5 separate regions of the Homo sapiens genome follow, and all the other regions are linked to region 2. Evidence: promoter capture Hi-C in 16 types of primary human blood cells and fetal thymus (Javierre and others, 2016). All regions are on one chromosome and are shown on one strand. The core of a region is centred on a gene start or on the middle of the fragment in contact, and the rest is flanking DNA. Distances in the headings are between cores, read along the strand shown. Region 1 overlaps SCN2B (sodium voltage-gated channel beta subunit 2). Region 2 holds the start of ARCN1 (archain 1 coat protein complex I subunit delta). Region 3 holds the start of HYOU1 (hypoxia up-regulated 1). Region 4 holds the start of SLC37A4 (solute carrier family 37 member 4). Region 5 holds the start of JAML (junction adhesion molecule like).

Region 1 (4,461 bases), core at 1,962-4,461, 400 kb before region 2:
GACCATGGCTCAACAAGGTCAGAGCTGTGAGCAAAACTCTGGTCTCTTGATTAACTCTCCTGCTTCGGGAAAGCACCCGAATGCATGGCCAAGGCCACAGAAAGGACTTCATCACAGCCACAAACCCTTACAAAATGCTTACAACGAGCCAGGCACTGTCTACATACTCTACATACATCACCTCATTTAATACTAACAAAACCTGTTATCGCTCCCACATTCCGGATGAGGAAGATGGAGCACAAAGAAGTTAAGAGACGAGCCCAAGTTCACGGCTAGTAAGAGGCGAAGCTAGAATCTGAAGCCAGCCTGCCTGGCTCCAGACTGGGTTGAGGCATTGAAGCTGAGTGGTGAAGTGAGCCCCATTCCAAGGCATCCGATCTCTTGCCGACTATATGGCAGGTCCAACTCCAGGCAGGCCCGCCAGCAGGGAATTGTACCATTTAAAGGAACCTCCATACAAGGGGGGCCCACAATCTTCCTGGTTGTCCCATTTGAGACCAGGTCTGGGGCCTGTGTCTCCTGATTTTCAACTCACAGAAGGGAAAAGATCATCAACGGGATGAGGCTTCTGATCTTAGATCCAAAACCTCAGCAGTGGCGGGCCACCCGCTGTCTCCAAGGCACATCTGGGCCCTCAGGCCTCGTGTCATCCACTGTTCTAACTAGCCCATCTTGCAGAGACTATAAAAATTTGCTCATCTGCCAAATGCTGTCTCTTGCAGAGACTGGAAGTTAATCTCTTCACTCCTCTTTCCACCCTACAGCAACCTATGAGGTAATTATTTTCTTCTTGGTTTTTTTTTTTTTTTTTAAGTGTCTAAACAGATGAACTGTCTCCCGGGGCAGCCCCTGCCTCCCAGGTGAGTGTGGCATCCAGCCCGTATCTCCGCACCTGCACTGCCTTACCATCCAGACCCTTCCTGCTCAAGGGCCTCCCCAACCCCGGCCACTCCAGTCCATCCCCGTGCAGCCAGGAGCAACCCACCCTCATCACTCCTCACCTCCAGACCTCCAACGGCTACCCACTGCTTTCAGGATCAAGTCCAGGCTCCTGGGCACAGCTTCCAAGCCCTTTGGCATCTGGGACCAACCTATACCCTAGCCTCATCCCCTGCCAGCCCCCATCCCCCCAGGTCTCCTTCACTCCAGTGACCCCAGTTCTGATTTTTTCTGAAAACACCACCTTCCTTCCCTTCTCCATGCCTTTGCACGTATTTTTGCTTCAGGTTGAGAAGCTCATTTGCCCTCCTGCCCCTGGGCCCCTCCTACTTATTCTTCAGGTCCCAGCTTACAGGGCATTAGCCTCGGTGACTGTTTCCCCATTGTCCTTGTCCTCACCCCAGCCCTGTTCCTATCTCTTCCACATGACTTGAGGGCAGAATGGCAGGATAGTTAACCTCCCAGTGCCTCAGTTTCCTCATCTGTAATATAGGGGACAATAAGCCCAACTTCATAGGGCTGTCGAAGGATTAAATGACTTACTACCTGTATGAAGCTCAGCACAGTGCCTAGCACATGGCCTGGACAAAAGTCAGCTGCGACTATGATGAGCATTATTGCTATTATTGTTGCCATACATACAATGTTGTCTTGTTATTATTTGTTCATGGGCCTGTTTCCCTCTAGAGGCTCCGGGGAACTGACTCCTATTCATCTTGGTATCCCTGGCACCCAGGACAGTGTGTGGCAGAGTGGGGACTCAATAAAGTCTACTAAAGGAAGAAGAGACAGCTTTCTCTCCATGTCTGGGTCCCCACCACCACAAGCAGCAGATATGTGCAGTGGGCTAGAGTGAGGACTAGACTTCACTTTCTTTCTTTCTTTCTTTCTTTCTTTTTTTAAGAGACAGGGTTTGGTTCTGCTGCCCACGCTGGAGTGCAGAGGCATGATCACGGCTCACTGCAGCCTGGAACTCTTGATACTCCTTCTTCAGCCTCCTGGAACAGTTAGGACTACAGGTACATGCCACCATGCCTGGCTTATTTTTCTTTTCTTTTTTTTTTTTTTTTTTTTTTTTTTTTTGTAGAGACAGGGTCTTGCTATGTTGTCCAGGCTGGTCTCCAATTCCTGGCCTCAAGCGATCCTCCCACCTCGGCCTCCCAAAGCACTGGGATACAGGCGTGAGCCACCATGCTCAGCCCAGACTCCACTTTCTATGCCTCCACTAACATAATCCATACATTGGTAAGCAGGCCAGTGACTGTGGAGTCAACGGTCTCAAGAAAAACTTGAGGGAAGCCCAGTCATTTGAATTGTTTCTGGCTAAAACTAGCCTCATATGCTTCTGCCGTGGGTAGAGCTGGTTGCCCACCTGCCCTTTCTCTTTGCCACCTCCATAGTCATCCCCACAAGCCCAGCCCCGACAGAGTCCCCTCCCTCGTCACTTGTGGCATCCTCCATCCTGGGGATCGATGCTACTGCAACACCACCAAAGTTCCACTGTCAACTCGGCCCTCAGCATTGGAGTGCCAGGGACATGCCTCATTACAGCACCAATCAAGTTCAAGTTCAAGGTCCCCATTCCTGCATCCTCTCCCACTCAGCTTTGCAGAAGCTTTAGCTTCCTCCCACTACCATCTCCCCACCCCAAACACTCAGACCTCTTCATCGCAGACTCCCTCTTCCTCACCCTAGCCCAGAGCTCTGGGTCCTGGTCACTGAGCCCCCTTTCTATCTTTACTTAGCCATGGCTCTCACCAGGCGGCTTCTCTCCTGCACGAAGTGCTTCCTAACTCCTGAGGAAAGGGTCCTGTCCTCCAGCTGGGCCTCCTTACAACAGGCCACTCACCCAACTCCCCTTCTTTCAGCCTGTCCTGAGACTCTGATCAATTAGGTACTGTTAATATAGCAGTGCCATTTCTTGAACATTGGGGAGTGGAATCCAACGTTTAAGAGAATGTGCTGAAGTCAGACACAGGGAGTTCAAATTTCAGCTCCCGTTACCATAGTCATCTGTTTCCTCCCTGTAACCTGAGTATAATAGAATCTACCTCCGATTGCTGTGAGGGCTAAACAAGATACACAGTGCCTGGGCTCACGAAAAGCATTCTTATGTTAGCCATCGTTGAGTTCCTGCCATGCACCAAATCACAAACACGTCAGGCAGTAGGCATTCTTTAGTTTACCCGGGAGGGAACTGAAGCTCAGAGGGGTTGAGTAACTTGCCTGTGATCATTACGTAAATGACAAAGGTGGCTTGAAACCCAGGTCCTGCCAGAGATTCCATAGCATTCCTGCTCTGATGTTAATATGCCAAGTAACTCAGCAAAGCAGGCTGGCAGGGCCTCTGCACTGTCTGTGTTTAGCACTCCTACTCCAAACCCAGCACATCACACCACAGAAAGAGAGAGAGCCTTTGTGGTGGGGAATAGTTCCATCAACAGTCCTTGGACTTGACTCTCAGTTGCTGCTCCAGCAATAAGTAAGTTTAGGAGCAAGAATGAAACTCTACAAAGCAGGCTTGCAAATAACTTTCTAGCCCACTTCCCCACCAGGAAGTCTCTGAGTGGTCAAATACAAACACTTGACAGGACAGTCTGCAAGACTGGGCTGGGCAGTTCTGAGGCTGGATTTAAAGGGCTGCAACCTCGCTCAGCCTGTGGGTTCCATTTTTTTCCTGAATCTCTACACCTGGCCCTTCCTCCATTCCATCCGGCCCAAGCCAAAGGTGCCTTCTCCATCAGTGCGTGCCTCAGCAGGTCTCCTCCCAACCCAGACATCATTCCCCAAGCCCGCTTCCCACCTACTCCCACACACGTTCCAACAGATCAGTGAGACCGAGTGCCAAGAAGCCAGACCCAGACTCAACTTTCTGCCACCAGCTCCCCTGCACACTCTCCTAATACCCTAAATCCACCAGGATCAAGCTTCTGAAAAGAAGCCCCTTAAGGGAGCATTAAGTCCCAGGACCCCGCATTTGCAGCAACTCCAAAAAATAATCCCTGAAGAGACTGCAGGTCAATCCACTCTCTGCCCCACCGCCACGTAGGTCCACTTAGGGGAAATCCAGAGAAGATTCACCTCCCTTGACAATTGTCAGCCCCCAGCAACACTCAGATCCCCTGACCCAACATTTCTGTGACTAAGTAGTCCCAGGGTTCTGCACTCCCCAGCAACGTCCCTTCCAGTCCCCAGCACCTCCCCTCCCAAGGACACAGAGGGAAAGCGCTAGCAATGTCTTCTTTCCTATCCCCTGCCCCCATCCTCTTCACATTGCGGCTACACTTCTGAACCCTCGGGAGCATGCAGATGTGTCTAACTTACCCAAAGAGAAAAAGAGACTGAGCCCCGTGAGGCTGAAGGCAGGGCGAGGTAGCCAGGCATCTCTGTGCATTTTCAGAGACTGAGATGTTAGTCGGGTGGGCTACGGGAGAGGGTGATTTGAGGGGGCGAGAACTACAAGGGAGGAATGGTTGGATGCTAAAAAAAAATGCACGGATGTACTTCAAAGACATATAC
Region 2 (4,391 bases), core at 1,503-4,002:
ATGAGACCTGTGGTGGGATAGTTTTCTTCTCTGTACCTTGATTTCCTCATGTGTAAAATGGAGACAATAAAGGTACCTATCTCAGAGGATTCTTGTGAGGATTAAATGAGATAATCTGTGTGAAGTTAGAGTAATGGCTGGTATGCTGTAAGTGTTCAATAAATGTTAGGGAACACACAGGAGATACAGAGGCAGTGTGTTTTAATGGAAAAAGCTGACTTTGTTTTTTTGTTTGTTTGTTTTGAGACTGAGTGTTACTCTGTTGCCCAGTCTGGAGGGCAGTGTTGTGATCTCAACTCACTGCAACCTCCGCCTCCCAGGTTCAACCAATTCTCATGCCTCAGCTTCCCAGATAGCTGGGAGTACAGGCATGAGACACCACGCCCAGCTTTTTTTTTTTTTTTTTTTTTTTGAGACGGAGTCTCCCTCTGTCGCCACGCTGGAGTGCAGTGGCATGATCTCGGCTCACTGCAACCCAACCTCCGCCTCCTAGCTTCAAGGATTCCCCCACCTCAGCCTCCCGAACAGCTGAGACTACAGGCACGCGCCACCATGCCCAGCTAATTTTTTTTTTTTTGTACTCTTAGTAGAGATGGGGTTTCACCATGTTGGCCAGGATGGTCTCGATCTCTTGACCTTGTGATCCGCCCACCTCAGCCTCCCAAAGTGCTGGGATTACAGGCGTGAGCCACCGCGCCCAGCCAGGAGAAAACTGACTTTGAACTTGGCTCTACCACTTACTAGTTGTGTGAGTTTGGACAAATGCTTAACTTTTTTGATCCTCAGTATCTTTATTTGGATTGATGTAAAAGATTGGAAATAACATGTGTAAAGTACCTGACACAAATGAAGCACTCAATTAAAAGTTGCTATTATACTTAATTGTGGACATACAGGTTTAATATGGATGAGTGCTGTTCGGTTGAGCTAAGGATGTAGGATAAAATGATTTAAGGAAGAACTACTGAATCAGCTATACTCTGAAAAATCTGAAATTTGGCATACAAGAAATAACATGAGAATCACAAGAACAGATTTTGAGTCTTGGTTCCATCATATACTGGTTTAGAAACTTTGGGTAAGTCACTTAAACTTTTCACCATTTTCTTCATATACAAAATGGACATGAGCACAACTGCCCTGCTTCCAGTGCATGTTTTTTTAAAGATATAATTTACAAATCATAAAAATTCACCTTTTAAAATTATACAATTTAGTGGTTTTTAGTATATTTGCCTCTATCTAGTTCCAGAACTATTTTTTTTTTAAGAGTCTAAGTCTCACAATTTGCACAGGCTGACCTTTAACCCCTGGTCTCAAGCCATCCTCCCAACTCAGCCTCCCAAGTAGCTGGGACTCTAGGATCATGCCACCATGCCTGGCTTAATTCCAGAATGTTTTAATTATTCCAGAAATAAATCTTACACTAATTAACTGTCACTCTCTATTCCTACCCTTCCTGAGCCCCTGGAAATCACTAAGCTAGTTTCTGTCTCTGTGGATTTTCTTCTATTCTGGATCTTTCGTATTAATGGAATCATATATGAGTGCCCCATTGTATCCGTCTTTTTTCACATAATATTCTCAAGGTTCATCCATATTGTAGCATGTCAGTACTTTATTCCTTTTTGTGACTAAATAATATTCCATTGCATATATATGCCACATCTATTGATGAATGGATTTGTTTGGATTGTCTCCACTTTTTGGCTACTATGAATAATGCTGCTATGAACATTAGAGTACACATTTTTGTGTTGACATATATTCAGTTCTCCTGGGTATGTACCTATGAGTGGAATTGCTCAGTCATGTGGTAATTTTGTTTAACTTTTTGAGGAACTGCCAAACTCTTTTCCAACGTGGCTGCACTATTTTACATTCATCCTCACCAACAATTATTATGATAGCCATCCTAGTGAGTGTGAAATGACGTCTCACCACGGGTCTGATTTCCATTTCCCTAAGGATATTCAACATTTCTTAATGTGCATATTAGCCATTTATATATCTTCTTTGGACACATATCTATTCAAATCTTTTGCTCATTTTAATTTTGTGTTTTCTACTCCCTCCATTTTGCAGATGAAGCCCATTTTTAGACAGGAATACTGTATTTGTCTTTTTATTGCTGAGTTATAAGAGTTCTTAGGCCAGGCGCGGTGGCTGACGCCTGTAATCCCAACATTGGGAGGCTGAGGCGGGCGGATCACTTGGGGTCAGAAGTTTGAGGCTAGCCTGGCCGACATGGTGAAACCCCGTCTCAACTAAAAATACAAAAAACAGCCGAGCGTGGTGTGGCGCGTGCCTGTAATCCCAGCTACTCCGGAGGCTGAGGCAGAAGAATCGCTTGAACCTGGGAAGTGGAGGTTGCAGTGAGCCGAGATCACGCCATTGCACTCCAGCCTGGGCGACAGAGTGAGACTCCATCTCAAAAAAAAAAAAAAAAAGTTCTTTATATATTCCGGATACTGGTCTTTTAGGCACACAGGTTATCCTGTATATTAAATAATAGTGGCTGTGCCAGCGGCTTGTTAAACTGTAAGATGTGACGCAAAATAAATGAAGGCGATGACAGTGAAAGGGGAGAGATACGAGGTTCCACAGCTGGAGGGTGAACGCCCCCTACACCTCCTGGGCTTAATCGTAACCGGAGCGGGGTACCCTCAATTTCCCCAGCCCACAGGCCCCGCCCCCCCCCCCGCCCTTTGACCTGCGCCGCTTCCGGTTGAAGACGTGGCTTGGGGCCGCCATCTTGGCAAGAGGCGAAGCGGCAGCGGTTCCTGTCAAGGGGGCAGCAGGTCCAGAGCTGCTGGTGCTCCCGTTCCCCAGACCCTACCCCTATCCCCAGTGGAGCCGGAGTGCGGGCGCGCCCCACCACCGCCCTCACCATGGTAAGATCCGAGCCAGGACCCGAACTCCTGGGGTCCGAGCCTCACCGTCTCTCCTTGTCGGCGGGCCTGGGGCAGGGGCCGGAGGAGCCCCGCCCTGAGGGTCTAGGGCAGAGTGCTTTTGCTCCGGGCTCGGGGAGCAGTGTGGCCTCCTGTGCCCGGTCTCCTGGAGATCCGATGGAGCTGACTCCAGTCCATCTGTCGTCGTGCCCGCTTCCGCACCACCCCCCAACCAGCTGGACTCCCTCGTTTGCTGGGACCTGCCCCTGAGACGGCCCGGCGTTTTTGCTCTGCGAGAACTTCGTGGTGGTGGTGCGGGTCCCAGGCTGCGGACCTCGGAACTGATGCTGTCCCGCCGGTTCCCTGGCGCTTAGGCTCAGCAGGCTGGGCCTGTCTCCGGAGGTTCTGGTCCTTCTGTTAATCAGAGCTTGTCTCCCACCCCCGGTGTTTGCTAGGCCGTTGATAACTCGAAATGCAAATCCACTGGTGTCCAGAAATTTTTCTTTTTGTTCAGAAGGGGGAAATGGAGACACAGAGCGGAAAGGAGTAACTTCTAACACTAATGTATAGGACCCAAGTGTCTCTGAAACCTTCCACTACTTCCGCAGAACTCACTTGTGTCCATTTGTTAGTGTGACTCGGGGTACATACACTGTGTAGACCACTGGGAAAATGTGAGCAGGTTCCAGAGAACACAGGGTTTGCCTTCAAGGAACTTATTGTCCAGGTGAAGAAAAATGTGTATGTGGCATGTCGTAGTCAGATGTCTCACAGGAGGTGGAGTAAGAGGGATGGGTTAGCCTCCGAGACCAGTTACTTGCCTTCCCATGCGTTATCTTTGTATACTCATCTGTTACAAGGATGAGAAAGGTTAATGTGGTTGAGGATGGAGGAAATCAGAACTGCTGACATCACTCAATCTTCCTTTATCGCTGTGATTTGTGGATATTCATGAAGTAGTAGACATTCTTTGGTTTCAAAAAAGCTAGTAATTTATTTTTCAGTGCACCTTATGTCCTTTAGTCTTTTGAAGGATGTTCTGTTCTGTTCTTTTTTATTCTTTTGTCAATAGATAACTTGATTTAAAACATCGTCCAGTGTACCTGAGAGATGGCAGAATGTAATTTGGTGGCAATCCTAATAAGTTCTATTGACAACCCTTTAGATAAGAACTTGGATAATGGGGGGAATTCATGCTTGGACTTTAGGCCACTGAACAGCTTTTCTCAGCCTCAGGTATATAAATTGCATCAAACAGGTTTGCCTCCTAAAATTTTTGTGTTGGACACAAAATTTCCAGAAACTTGTATTTTCAGTTTCTCCAGGAGGTTCTGTATTTGGTTAGTGATTTTGAAACTCAGTTCCCGTTTACACCCTGGAATTAATAATGCATTTTAGAGCATATTTTTATTTTAATAGTAAAGTTAAGGTCTTGTATTATATAAACCAGATAAAGGTAATCTTTCTAAAAATATTCTTTGTTAAAAGGTTCTTGGAACT
Region 3 (4,574 bases), core at 345-2,844, 480 kb after region 2:
AAGGACTCAGAAGCCTCGACACTCACACACATTTAACCACTCAGATGCCGAAGTCTGCTGTGGGCACTATGACTAACACATTCACACTTGGAGCCCAGACTCCCTCGTTCCCCACCCTTAACACGGGGGCCACCCTCACTTATTCAAGACAATTTCCATGGGCACTCCAGGTTTGACAATGGCCACCTTCATGGACTCACTGCCCAGGTCCACAGACATCACTGCCAGTGTATCTGAAGGGAAAAGAGGTTTGTCAGTTAGCTCTCCCTTCGCCCACCTTCCTGGGACTCCCTCTAATCAAAGCATACCACTTTCCATGGGTAAACGAAGATGGCAAAAGACAAAAAGGCCTGGACCTAACAACTCAAGAGACTTCTGGCCAACAGCCCCAAGCTCAATTCCCATCATGCATCCTTCAGTCATCATTTATCCATTTGCTCCCTCTACTGGGGTACATACCACTCAGTGCCAACAGGTCTGCCAAGAGCACAGCCACCAAGGCCCAACAGACTCGCCTCCTCGGCCTCTGCCTCCTAACTTTGTCTGCCATAGTGCCCCTGGGGGAGGCGAAGAAAGAAAACACTTAAAACTGGATACCCGGAGTGAAGGAGACAGAATCACATCCCAGAACGGAGAGGCTGTAAGATTCATATCTACTTCATTCTTACCCAGGGCAGATCAGCCTACTTCTCCCCTTCTCCCTCCTGATGGGTACAAACCATTCTCTAATCATCCCAGCAGCGCCCACACAAAGGCCCAAGTGAAAGAGCATGGGTCCTCGGCTTTGCCACATCCCTAAACAGAGAAGCTAACAGGACAAGAGAAAGGAGACCCGAGCCTTTTGTCCACCACACAGGCAGTGAGTGGCGCACCGCAGCACTGTGCCTGTTGTCAGACACCTGGGGTGCGGCCAGGGATCCCCGCCCAGGGCTCAACCACCTCCCCACACCTGGAGCTCCCCCGCTGACGGGGAAAGCCAGCTGGGCCTGGACGGGAAGAGAAAGGTAATGACGTTGGGGGTAGCTAGGATGAAGGAAAGGCCTATCTCCTCCTCGGCATCCCTGCGGGTTGTCCCGCCCCCTCCCCTTTCCCAGCTCACTCCCCGGCCCCGCTGTGCCCACAGACGCAGTGCCAGGGGCGGTAAGGTTCCCCGCCCGGCGGGTAGCCGTTACCCGGTGTTCACCTAAACCCCACCTGACGAAGGCGGCGGCTCCCACTCCCGGAAACGGATCCCGGCCCGCCCCAGCAAGTGGGGACAGACCGGGGGCCGAGCTGCGTGCCCCCCGGTGCGAGGCCGAGCGCCCGGCGTCCGCGCGGCCCTCCCTTGCGCTCCCGACCCGCCCCCGGAGCTCGCACGCTGTCTCCCCTAGGAGGGGTGGCCGGCCCGCACCTCCATCCACCCCCGCTACCTCTTGCCTCCGCTCCTGCGGCCCCAGCTCTGGGACAGACGCGGCACGAACGTACCCACGAGGCCGGCAGCGCCCCCCACCCGCGCCCTTCACAACTCCTCTCGGTTTGCAAACTGTTACATTAGCCACCAACCTCTCGGCGGCGTCTCGCGCACCAGCCGGCCCCGGACGCGGCGCGCGCTCATTGGAGCCTCGGCCGCCCGGCCCTGCGCTGCGCGCCCGGCCCCGCCCCCGCCGCCCCGGCGCGCGTACTCATTGGACCACGTCCCAGGCCCCGCCCCCTCCCTTTGCCAGCCTTGTAATGGGGCGGCGGAGGGGACCAGCCACCGGTTGGGCAGAAGCAGCCGGCGTCGGCCTGGGATTGGACCACGTCACGGGGCCAGCGCGCTCCACTCCTTCCTCCCCAGCGCCGGCCCCGGGGCGACCGCGGGACCTTTTCCGGCGCTGGATGCTTTGCTGCCGGGGTTCGGGAGTGACCTGCGCCTAGAGCAGGTCGGGCGCACTGCAGTCCCGCACTCGGGGCTCTTCTTCCGGTCACCTGTAGAGCCCGGCCGAGGAATGGAATAACAGGCGTCCTGTCCGCAGCCCCGCGGAGGGGGCGCTGGCCTGCCGGTTAGTATTGAGGTGCCCTAGGCTTTGGATAGACGTTGGAGAATGGCTGTCCCTCGGACTGAGTCCGTCGCAACCCCCTCTGTTTTACTGAGGAAACTGAAGCCACAGAAAAAGATGTTTGCTGATGGGTCAGAGATAACCGATGCATTCGTCGCAGAATCTGGCCAGGATTTCTTAGGTTAAGCCCCACTCATTTGTATAAGAAAGAATATTCCAAACTTAAGTACTACACACAAAAGACACTTTTATTTGTGAGGCTATAGTTGGTTGAGCTTGTGTGCACCTTCTCCTATTTCTGTTCTATTAAATCTTGTGAACATTTCTCTACTCTTTAGCTGTTTCTGTCATAGAATGACAGAAGCACCTCACTGCCTTCTCTTTTAACTTACAGCTCCATAGAAATGTGCGCAGTCGCCCGGGCGCGGTGGCTCACGCCTGTAATCCCAGCATTTTGGGAGGCCAAGGCGGGCGAATCACTGGAGGTCAGGAGTTCGAGACCAGCCTGGCCAACATGGTGAAACCCCGTCTCTACCAAAACTACAAAAATTAGCCAGGCGTGGTGGCGGGTGCCTGTAATCCCAGCTACTCACGAGGCTGAGGCAGGAGAATTGCTTGAATCCGGGAGGCAGAGGTTGCTGTGAGCCCAGACTGCGCCACTGCACTCCAGCCTGGGCGACAACAGCGAGACTCCTTCTCGAAAAAGAAATGTACGCAGTCCTTGGAGACTGCATTTTCCTTAAGTGTGGATGGAAATAAGTCATCTGTTTTCTCTCCTACTAAGTTGATGCCTGGCCACCCTTCACAGAAAGGCCCGCTTGAAGACCCTGGCTGTCAGGGCCAGGGTTGTGTCAAGCCTGAACTTGTTTAAGGAGCTCTTAGCTCTTCCTTTCTCTACATTTTTCGTGATGCTTAGGTGGAGAGTGGTCCGGTGTCTATGCTTAGAAGGAAAAATTATTGGCAGTCCCAGAGAGAGTCTATTCTTCCTTTTTTTTTTTTTTTTTTTTTTATTGATCATTCTTGGGTGTTTCTGGCAGAGGGGGATTTGGCAGGGTCATAGGACAATAGTGGAGGGAAGGTCAGCAGATAAACAAGTGAACAAAGGTCTCTGGCTTTCCTAGGCAGAGGACCCTGCGGCCTTCCGCAGTGTTTGTGTCCCTGGGTACTTGAGATTAGGGAGTGGTGATGACTCCTAACGAGCATGCTGCCTTCAAGCATCTGTTTAACAAAGCACATCTTGCACCGCCCTTAATCCATTTAACCCTGAGTGGACACAGCACATGTTTCAGAGAGCACAGGGTTGGGGGTAAGGTCATAGATCAACAGCATCCCAAGGCAGAAGAATTTTTCTTAGTACAGAACAAAATGAAGTCTCCCATGTCTACTTCTTTCCACACAGACACAGCAACAATCCGATCTCTATCTTTTCCCCACCTTTCCCCCTTTTCTATTCCACAAAACCACCATTGTCATCATGGCCCGTTCTCAATGAGCTGTTGGGTACACCTCCTAGACGGGGTGGTGGCCGGGCAGAGGGGCTCCTCACCTCCCAGAAGGGGCGGCCGGGCAGAGGCGCCCCCCACCTCCCGGACGGGGCGGCGGCCGGGCGGAGGCGCCCCCCCACCTCCCTCCCGGACGGGGCGGCTGGCCGTGCGGGGGCTGGCCCCCCACCTCCCTCCCGGACGGGGCGGCTGGCGGGGTGGCTACGGCGGGGCAGAGGCGCTCCCCACATCTCAGATGATGGGCGGCCGGGCAGAGACGCTCCTCACTTCTTAGACGGGATGGCGGCCGGGAAGAGGCGCTCCTCACTTCCCAGACTGGGCAGCCGGGCAGAGGGGCTCCTCACATCCCAGACGATGGGCAGCCAGGCAGAGACGCTCCTCACTTCCCAGACGGGGTGGCGGCCGGGCAGAGGCTGCAATCTCGGCACTTTGGGAGGCCAAGGCAGGCGGCTGGGAGGTGGAGGTTGTAGCTAGCCGAGATCACGCCACTGCACTCCAGCCTGGGCAACATTGAGCACTGAGTGAACGAGACTCCGTCTGCAATCCCGGCACCTCGGGAGGCCGAGGCTGGCGGATCACTCGCGGTTAGGAGCTGGAGACCAGCCCGGCCAACACAGCGAAACCCCGTCTCCACCAAAAAAACACAGGCGTGGCGGCGCGCGCCCGCAATCGCAGGCACTCGGCAGGCTGAGGCAGGAGAATCAGGCAGGGAGGTTGCAGTGAGCCGAGATGGCAGCAGTACAGTCTAGCTTCGGCTGGGCATCAGAGGGAGACCGTGGAAAGAGAGGGAGAGGGAGACCCTGGGGAAAGGGGGAGGGGGAGGGAGAGCTATTCTTCCTTTTAAGAGTAGTTATGTATTCAGGCAGTAGACAAATTGGTAGAAATAGAAATTCAGTTAAAATTTTAACAGAATTTAATTACACAAATAATACACAAATGTAATCTTTAAAAAATTCATTCTACACAAAGGCAAATTTCCTTGATGCCAACCCAAACCCCCACTCTCTCTTGTGGAGGCACCTGCTATTGTCAGTGTGGTGTATAAGTTTCCAGG
Region 4 (4,533 bases), core at 1-2,500, 460 kb after region 2:
CGGAAGGAGGCATGCCTGTGAGCCAGGCCAGCACCCTGTGTCCCCAGGATTTCTGCCTTTACCTCCTCTATCATGTCTGCTTGCCTGTGAAACCAGCTTTGATTAAAGGTTCAACCTAATTACTTTTGTCTGCCTGAGCCCAGGGGAGGCAGGGGTGGGATGAGCAGAGATGCCCTCTCTAGCCCTGCTCCCTCAGTCACAGAACCTTCTCATTCATTCACGGAAGGTTTATTAACTTACTAGTTGACAGGCACTGCACTTGGCACTATTAGTTTCTACACCCACTCACCACCACCGCACCAAAACACAAAGTCAGACACATACCCCGGCTACCCCACTTCTAAGCCTTCTAGAGAGGGCCTCAATCCGTGGAACTCTCAATACTTAGCACATAATAGATTTAATTGTTTCCTACAGTTGCCCCTTGTAATTCTGTGCAAGGGGGACCTCCCCAGTTCAGGTCCCACGGTGTCACACAGAAAGCCCCGCTAAGGGCTGAGGTCCTGATGGGGCCCCACAGAGCTACCTCTGGGTCCCCATTACCCTGCGACGTCAGTCTGGGCTTCCTTCGGGCTAGCTGGGGGCTGCAGGGTCTGGTTTCCAACCTGTGGGACGTTGGCAGGGGCCGCAAGCAGAGGGACTGGGCAGCTCGTGGGCGGGAAGGTGCCCCGGCGGGCTTCGGGCTGCAGGGCACAACCGTCCCGCCCAGGGCCCCGGCAACATGCCCCGGCTTTTCCGCTCAATTGGGAAAGCAACTGGAGCAGAAGGCGTAGGCGCACGCGGAGCGGGCGACCGCACGTATTCTCCCGGAGGCCCCGCGCTTCTGGCACCCAGAGGCTCAGCCTGGTAGGGGAGGGCCAGGCGGCGGGCGGGAGAGGAGGAGAGGCGGCGGGCGGCGAAGAGGCGGCGGGCTCGTGGCACCTGCCCAGCCCCGTGGGTCCTCACGCTACCCAGGACACGCTACTGTGCGGCTGGGAACCACGGGGGCCGGGGGTGCAGGAGCTGGAGAGGTGCGGAGACCACAGGACTGGCGCGATAGAAAGGGGTCTCGTGCTGGTGGTCAGGGACAGCGCCTCGGTGGCCCCAAGACCCATGAATTGTCTCTGGAACTGCAGGAACAGCTCCGGGTCGTATCGGAAGTTGGGGTTCGCCAACAATGGCTCCCCAAGACCTGAGATCCCCGCCCTCAGGTGACTCCCCTCCCCCGCATACCGCCTCCTACCTGAACAGAGGCGGGAGCCCGAATAGGACGGGGCGGGGCTAGCGAAGGCTGCGCAAGCGCGGCCGGCGGGGGCGTGGTCTTCGCCTGCTGCTTCGCTTGCCGGCCAGTGGAGTTCCCCGCCCCACATGCCGGGGACGTCGACTTACTCCCTCCCGCTGGTCACGCTGCTCCTTGGACGAACGAGCATAGCGCCCCTTAGGGGCTGGGCACGGCATGTCCAATTCTTAAGTGGTTGCATTCAACAAACCAGTTTTTAGTGAGTGCCCTCCTCTACAAAACACACCGAACACTAAGGTGATAATCATTGTTCCCAAGTTGCTCACAGTCTGGGAAAGGTGTTGTAGGAACACACAGTATTTTCTTTTTTTCTTTTTTTTTTTTTTTGAAACAGTCTCGCTCAGTCGCCCAGGCTGGAGTGCAGTGGCGCGATTTCGGCTCACTGCAAGCTCCTCCTCCCGGGTTCACACCATTCTCCTGCCTCAGCCTCCCGAGTAGCTGGGACTACGGGCGCCCACCACCACGCCCGGGTAATTTTTTGTATTTTTAGTAGAGACGGGGTTTCACCGTGTTTGCCAGGATGGTCTCGATCTCCTGACCTCGTGATCCGCTCACCTCGGCCTCCCAAAGTGCTGGGATTACAGGCGTGAGCCACCGCGCCCAGCCCACAATTTGGAATTTTAACTTGTGGTTAGATTGTTGGGGACAGAGACGGGGCCTGGAGTAAATATCAAATTCTAGTCCTAGACCCACAGCATTCTAACTGTATGACCTTGGTTAATCTCTATGAGCTCCCGTTTCCTACCAGCCTGGTAGATCATTGTGAAGACTCAACAGATGATTTAGATAAGAGCTCAGAAATTCTATAAGAGTTCTCAACAACAATGGTTTTCACTGATCCCAGTTAAGAGTTGTGAGGAGTAACAGTAGTGATGCTATTTTACAACAATGATGACTGTGTTCTCAGAAACAGAGCAAATGTTAACCCTGCCCATAGCTTCAACAGAAGGTAACATAGCCTAACAAAGTCCCCAACAGTCCCAATCAGCCAGCACTTCCCGACCTCTCCCCAATAGAAACGATATTATAAAAGCCTCAGCTTGTAAGCGATCAGGGTCTCAGCCAGACTCCTGACTGGAACTCCTTGCAGGCTTATTCCTGTGAATAAACCTGTTTGGCCGTTGAGTTGCCTCCTGTCTCTCGCTCTCTTCCCTTATATCTTCCTAACAAGAGTGGCTGAAGGAATTGTAAGTGTTCCAAAATTGAGAGCAAAGATCTTTTACTCCAGAGAAGATGGTCAGGGAAGGGAGGAGGAGGAGATGAGATAAAATAGGATGACAGGCCGGACGCGATGGCTCATGCTTGTAATCCCAGCACATTGGGAGGCCAAGGCGGGCAGATCACTTGAAGTCAGGAGTTCGAGACCAGCCTGGCCAACATGGTGAAACCCTGTCTCTACTAAAAATACCAAAATTAGCCAGGCTTGGTGGCACACGCCTGTAATCCCAGTTACTGGGGAGGCTGAGGCAGGAGAATTTCTTGGACCTGGGAAGCAGAGGTTGCAGTGAGCCGAGATCGTGCCACTGCACTCCAGCCTGGGTGACAGAGCGAGAGCCTGTCTCAAAAAAAAAAAAAAAAAAATAGGATGACGATGTCACTGAACTTCGTTAATTCAAAATCGGGGAGGAGCCTAGTTTGTACCAGGCACTGTGCTTTCAGCCAGGTAGATCCAAGGACCAGGAAACAGTTCCTCCGAAACCAAACCAGAGCAGATTCTTACTTTACCTAATAGAGGAGTAGGAAGCCATCAGGTTTTTCTCCGCTTTTATTTTTAAGATTTAACATACACATAATAAAATACAAAAAGTGCAGGAATCTTACATGTACAACTCAGTGATTTTTTACACATGTTAATACCCGTGTAACCACCACCTAAATTAACAGCCCTATCGTTTTGTTTTGGAAGTGGAGTGATCTCAGCTCACTGCAACCTCCTTCTCTGGGGTTCAAGCGATTCTCCTGCCTCAGCCTCCCGAGTAGCTGGGATTACAGGCATGCCCCACCATGCCCAGCTAATTTTGTAATTTTAGTAGGGGTAGGGTTTCTCCATGTTGGTCAGGCTGGTCTCAAACTCCTGACTTCAGGTGATCTGCCCCCCTTGGCCTCCCAAAGTGCTGGGATTACAGGCATGAACAACTGCACCCAGCCAACCCGGTTAATTTTTCTATTTTTTGTAGAGACAAGAGTTTCACCATATTGGCCAGGCTGGCCTCGAAATCCTGAGCTCAAGGGATCCACCTGCCTTGGTCTTCCAATATCCTGGAATTACAGGCATGAGCCACTGTGCCTGGTCGATGGTGTTTATTTGTTTGTTTGTTTGTTTTTGAGACAGAGTCTTGCTCTGTCGGCCAGGCTGAAGTGCAGTGGCAGGATCTCGGCTCACTGCAACCTCTGCCTCCTGGGCTCAAGCCATTCTCCTGCCTGAGCCTCCTGAGTAGCTGGGATTACAAGCATGTGCCACCACGCCCAGCTAATTTTTGTATTTTTAGTAGAGACAGGGTTTCACCCTATTGGCCAGGCTGGTCTCGAACTCCTGACCTCAGGTAATCCGCCCACCTCGGTCTCCCAAAGTGCTAGGATTACAGGCGTGAGCCACTGCGCCCGGTCTGTTTTTTTTGTTTGTTTGTTTGTTTGTTTGTTTGTTTTTGAGACAGGCTTGCTCTGTTGCCCAGGCTGGAGTGCAATGGTATCTTAGCTCACTCTAACCTCAAATTCCTGAGCATTGAGCGATCCTCCCAAGTAGCTAAGACTACAGGACCAGGCCACCTGGGTTCAAGCGATTCTTCTGCCTCAGCTTCCTGAGTAGTTGGTATTATAGGTGCCCGCAAACACGCCTGGCTAATTTTTGTATTTTTAGTACAGACAGGGTTTCTTTCTTTCTTTTTTTCTTTTTCTTTCTTTTTTTTTTTTTTTTTTTTGAGACAGAGTCTCGCTCTCTCGCCCAGGCTGGAGTGCAGTGGCACCATCTGGGCTCACTGCAAGCTCCGCCTCCCAGGTTCATGCCATTCTCCTGCCTCAGCCTCCCGAGTAGCTGGGACTACAGACACCCGCCACCACGGTCAGCTAATTTTTTGTATTTTTAGTAGAGACGGGGTTTCACTGTGTTAGCCAGGATGGTCTCGATCCTGACCTCGTGATCCACCCGCCTCGGCCTCCCAAAGTGCTAGATTACAAGCGTGAGCCACCGCACCCGGCGTACAGAGGGGGTTTCGCCATGTTGGCCAGGCTAGTCTCAAACTCCTGAGTTTAGGTTA
Region 5 (4,722 bases), core at 593-3,092, 350 kb before region 2:
GTTAATCTCATGAAAAGTTCTGTGGGTATAAGCAGGTTGGCTAAGATTTAAAGGGGATTACTTAGTTTTTCCATAGGTCGAACACTGAAATAAAAGCACACTGATGTAGGGCCAGAATCCGGGCCCATGTGTCTGAATAATGGTTTTCTAGAGAATTTATTTGTTTAACAGAAAATTGTAAAGAATTATGAGAGGTTTGTGGACGTTTTACCTTATGGTCAAACTATGATTGTATAGATTTGTTTATAAGGTTTTATTAAGAATTGGATCTAACATTAATAATATACTAATGCAAAGGTGAAATTTTGCTTTCTCTCATAAACAAGATTTTTGCATAATATTTTAAAATAATGAGATTTTTGTTTACCTTTTAATAAACAACAGAAAAAGGAGGAGAGAGGAAATAGATTCGGTTGGCATCATGCTGTCTTTATTGCGACCTGCTTGGAAAGTTGACTCTCCCCTCTATCAGCAAGTAAAGATTTTTGCCTTTTAGAAATTTTGGAGTTATCATTTTGGCTACCTAAATGACTTGTAGTGACTCTATACTAATCTTCTCTGAGCAACTCTCCTCCATATCCTGTTGGGTAATGAGAACAAGTGGCACCCCCTCCCTCCAAAAAATCCATACCCCTTTATATTACAGAAAAGAAATCTTCAGAAAAGAGACATGCTACAATGAGACTACCATACAAGATGTGAAAGTTACCCCCCAAATTACAATATCATGAGACAAAATAAGGGAGAGCTGCTGTCTCTCAGTGTTTGTCCCTAGTAAGGACAACTAACCACTGAGCAAACGGACAACTGCACAGCCTTCTTTTACTCACAGAGTGTTGTCCACCTGCAGAGCCAAGTCCTCTCAATCTATCTGCACACTGCTGTGCACTTCTAGGCTCTCAGATGTTTTTAGGTCTACAAGTCCATATAACCACTCTAAGCCATGCGTCTTAAAATATGCCCTCATTTTCCATTGTTAAGCCATTGAATACAGACTGGTAGGTCACGTGGCTTCTGTAACACAGTCTAGGTCACATCGGTTAATGCTCTACGCGAATGGGACCCTGGAGGTCCTTACTCCTGCTCTCTTCTCCAGAGTAGGTTATACCTAAACCATCCTGCATCAGCCTTTCCCAAGGTCAGGGCTGTGCTGAGGGTGTAACAAGCATGGACAGTAGCCTAGCTTTCTTGGGAGATTTAAGTCTCGGGCTTCTAAAGGTTAAATATTGGTTTGTCTATAATGGGGAGAAGAAAAACAGTGGTATAACTATGTAAAATGATGGATATATTAATCTGCTTCACCATAGTAAACTTTTTACTATCTACATGCATCCCACAACATCATGTTGTATACCTTAAATACACACAATAAAATTTGTTTAAAAATAAAATTAAAAACTGTCTTCTAAAAAGAAAAACAGTGAAGAAAGAGCTCTGCTGTGAGCTCAAGAACAGCCAGTCACAGCTCCACCTAAACCCACGGGTGACTTAAAAGCTGAAGCCTTGTCATAATCATTGTCACGTACTCTTATTATGATGAAACTTTGCTCCTCTTTTTGCTGAGGAGATTCACCTAAGTTACTCTACACGACAGTAACTGAAACAGCACCCATTAGACTACTTTATGACATCCCCCTGCAGAGATCAAGAGTTCTGCAATCGCAGCTTCACAATCCTGAGAGACTACCAATTCAACCAGCCTTCAGGACTGGCACACTTCTGTGTGAGAAAAGTTCAAAAAATGGCTTAAGAAATTCAAAGCAACTGCTTACCCAAGATGAAGAGCACCCAGGGGAGGCAATGCACTGAAATCTCCCCACAGCTGCAGTCCCCAAGCTCAACTGAAAGACTGCTGCGAGCACTCTAGGTTAGGCTCAGAGCAAACCAAACACGTGCCTTCTGAAGTGGTTGCAGAGATGCAAACAGGAACCTCTAAATCAAGGTTCTCATTTCAGTCATCTGGCCCATTACCCAATTGTTATGTATACTTTCATTCTAAAAAGAGGTGACAAATTCAACCTACTGAGGTGAACCTCACACTCAGACCTCTTCAGGTGCCATCTCCCCTTTTAGATGACAAGCCCTCTGAGGGTAGGAGCTTGAATGGCACCAGGCAAATAGGTGCTGAGAAAGAAATCCATTTCATGCAAACAAAATACAATAAACGTAATATTAACACAAAACCTTCTGTGTTAAAGATACAGCAACCTCTTTTATTTTTCCTCTCAAAACAGAGGTGCAACCTCGCCAGGCAATCACCCAATCCCTGCTTCCAAAGATACGCCTGCCCAGTCCTCCAACTCACCATGTAGACATGAAAGTTTCCTCTGGCCATGTGATATCAGCATTTCCAGAATACAGGCAGCCATTGATTCCCATAGAGAACCTCTTGGGTGACTTGGACATCCTAGATTAGAACTCAAGGTTTCTTCACTTCAAGATACCTCTCAGTCTTAGTCACCACTTCAAAATAGGTGTTCTCAATGTACGCACCTTCAACCTCGGCTAGATTGGCTTGACCTAGGCATGGGCAGACTCATGGAACTTGTCCTGTATCATCTGAAAAGCTGTTGAACGTTTGCTCCCAAGCACTACGCTGCATGGTCCTTGAGAAGTGATGTGCTAGAGAGCCAGCAATCTCCACAGCATAAATATTCCCATCATAACCTATTTCAAGCTACCAACAGTTTAACAACTGGCTTGCAAAATTCCTAAAAAACTTAATACAGGTTGAGTATCCCTTATCCAATATGCTTGGGACCAGAAATGTTTCAGATTTCATATTTTTTTCAGATTTTAGAATATTTGCCGAATACATACAAGTTGAACGTCCCTAGTCTGAAAATCCAAAATGCTCCAATAAGCATTTCTTTGGAGCATCATGTTGGCACTCAAAGTTACAGATTTTGGAGTTGAAATAGCAACCACTCTTTTGTATTTTCAGATTAGGGGTACTCAGCCTGTAATCAGCTCTTGCTATGTAAGCTGGTTCCAGCACACCACGGAACCTCTGCAGGTTCTTGCGGGGGTACAGCTCCGACATGACTGGTTGCACGATGCTGAAAACCACTGTTAAATCAAGTTTAGCCTAAAGCTGCCTCCTTACATATTTTAAGTTTGGCCTAAAGGTTTCTCTGTACATCATGAACTATAACGTAAATGGAATAGTATACGGACTCTAGTCTACTCTTGTGCCAGTCACTGAGTTTGGCCAATCGAAGATGGCCAATGATTCAAACTATTCAAATAAGGCAAACACCGAGCTGTAACCAATCCGGCTATTTCTGTACCTCACTTCTGTTTCCTGTACATGACTTTCCTTTTGCTGTCCATAAATCTTCCACCACGTGGCTGCGCTGGAGTCTCTGAGTCCACTCTGGCTCAGGAGACTGCCTGATTCATGAATCATTCTGTGCTCAATTAAACTCTTTTAAATTTAATTCAGCTTTTAATACCACAAACCCCCATCTTTTTCACATGACAATTCCCACCTTTTATGTAGATATGCACACACCAAAAGGTAGCCAAAGGGTACAAAGAAGTTTATTGACTATGATGCAGTAAAGATACCAAGAGTTACAATATTTGTGCATATGGCCCAACAGTGCCTACCCTCCTACAAAACAAAAACAAAAACAAAAAAAGGCAATGAGGTGCAGCAGTTAACAGCCCAACACTGGAGTCAAAGGAATGGAGCTGCCTCTTCTGGCAGCAAAGTTTCAAGTTGTGCAATTAAATAATAGTCTTGGTCCACTCCTTGTGGGTCTTCTTACAGTTTCCCTTTAGAACCATAACTGAGTGACTTAGTAGAACATTCATATTCAGGATGTGGCCTCCAGAAGTGTCGTTTTGTTTTGTTTTGAACAAAGACGTGCTACCTTCTCTCTTGAAGCACCAGTGCTGGGTTCAGGAGCTACAGAGGACTAAGATGTTCCCCAAGTAGCCTGAAGTAACAGGTCACATGGAAAACACAAAGCAATTGGTGAGTCCACATTTTGTAATAGAATTAAGAGCGTAATGCATAAAACTTAAAGTCATGTAACCACATGTAAAAACTTCAGCAGCTAAAGAAAAATTCTGGAAGGCTTTTAACCCCTTCTGAACTAAGTTCCCTTTCTAAACGAGGCTGGTTTCCATGGCTGTGACAAGAGCTCATGAGGTAGCAAAAAGAGAGAGAGAATAGCACCTTAGAAGTTACTCAAACAAGAGGTGAAACAAATAAGTAAACAAAAAAAGACCACTTTATCTTCCTTTCATCCTTAAAGAAGGCAGGTGTCTGTACACTGCTTTGTGATCCTTCGAAGAATAAAAAGCTGTAACCCAAATCTCAGTATAAGGGATGAAGAAGGAAAATGATAGCAGCTGATGACTGGGATGCGACCACAAACCCATATAGTAAACTAAGTTATCAACGTACTCCCTTACCACGAAGGACTTCATTCAGTCATTTAAAAAGCAAGGGACTAGTTCAAATCATGATTAAGGCTATAAAAGAACACGACTGAGTATTCACAGAGCACCAATTACCTCAAGTTTAGACTAGGTGTCAATCTACAAACATACTACCCTGCATTAATCTTCACAACACACCTGCGAGGACATTACAAGAAGGCCCAGCCAAAATTAGTTCCTCATTTAATGGGATATGGCTTTCAGTGGGTTCCTGTAACACCATCTCTTTCTTGGAGAAATGAGGACCTGCAAAATAGTCCCCCTCACAAT

Evidence for each region. Contacts are between HindIII fragments. The CHiCAGO score rates a contact against its expected background, and 5 or more counts as called.
Region 1: a fragment that was not itself captured here is called in contact with the fragment with the promoter of ARCN1 in region 2 in 1 of 17 cell types (erythroblasts); the score reaches 6.2 in erythroblasts.
Region 3: the fragment with the promoter of HYOU1 here is called in contact with the fragment with the promoter of ARCN1 in region 2 in 1 of 17 cell types (non-activated CD4 T cells); the score reaches 5.6 in non-activated CD4 T cells.
Region 4: the fragment with the promoter of SLC37A4 here is called in contact with the fragment with the promoter of ARCN1 in region 2 in 1 of 17 cell types (total CD8 T cells); the score reaches 5.1 in total CD8 T cells.
Region 5: the fragment with the promoter of JAML here is called in contact with the fragment with the promoter of ARCN1 in region 2 in 2 of 17 cell types (neutrophils and erythroblasts); the score reaches 5.6 in neutrophils.

Annotation. Positions count from the first base shown.
Region 1 is chr11:118,172,096-118,176,556 of GRCh38, forward strand. It overlaps SCN2B (sodium voltage-gated channel beta subunit 2), which reads right to left. Exons shown (of 4, transcript NM_004588.5): 1 at 4,267-4,461. The coding sequence starts at 4,336. Among named protein-coding and RNA genes, the nearest start is that of SCN2B, 2.3 kb to the right of the region's middle. The HindIII fragment of the contact is 1,312 bases long and covers 2,556-3,867 here.
Region 2 is chr11:118,569,657-118,574,047 of GRCh38, forward strand. It overlaps ARCN1 (archain 1 coat protein complex I subunit delta), which reads left to right and starts at 2,753. Exons shown (of 10, transcript NM_001655.5): 1 at 2,753-2,894. The coding sequence starts at 2,892. It also overlaps a transcript of IFT46 not described here. RefSeq lists enhancers at 2,415-2,544, 3,055-3,134. The HindIII fragment of the contact is 8,662 bases long and covers 1-4,391 here.
Region 3 is chr11:119,055,611-119,060,184 of GRCh38, forward strand. It overlaps HYOU1 (hypoxia up-regulated 1), which reads right to left and starts at 1,595. Exons shown (of 26, transcript NM_006389.5): 1 at 1,410-1,595; 2 at 460-557; 3 at 140-233. The coding sequence starts at 550. RefSeq lists enhancers at 693-1,193, 1,194-1,693, 2,053-2,102 and silencers at 1,173-1,452, 1,543-1,822. The HindIII fragment of the contact is 24,437 bases long and covers 1-4,574 here.
Region 4 is chr11:119,029,627-119,034,159 of GRCh38, forward strand. SLC37A4 (solute carrier family 37 member 4) reads right to left here and starts at 1,251. Exons shown (of 10, transcript NM_001467.6): 1 at 1,223-1,251. RefSeq lists a silencer at 706-865. The HindIII fragment of the contact is 18,338 bases long and covers 1-4,533 here.
Region 5 is chr11:118,223,169-118,227,890 of GRCh38, forward strand. It overlaps JAML (junction adhesion molecule like), which reads right to left and starts at 1,843. Exons shown (of 10, transcript NM_001098526.2): 1 at 1,773-1,843. MPZL3 (myelin protein zero like 3) reads right to left here. Exons shown (of 6, transcript NM_198275.3): 6 at 3,522-4,722. The HindIII fragment of the contact is 17,664 bases long and covers 1-4,722 here.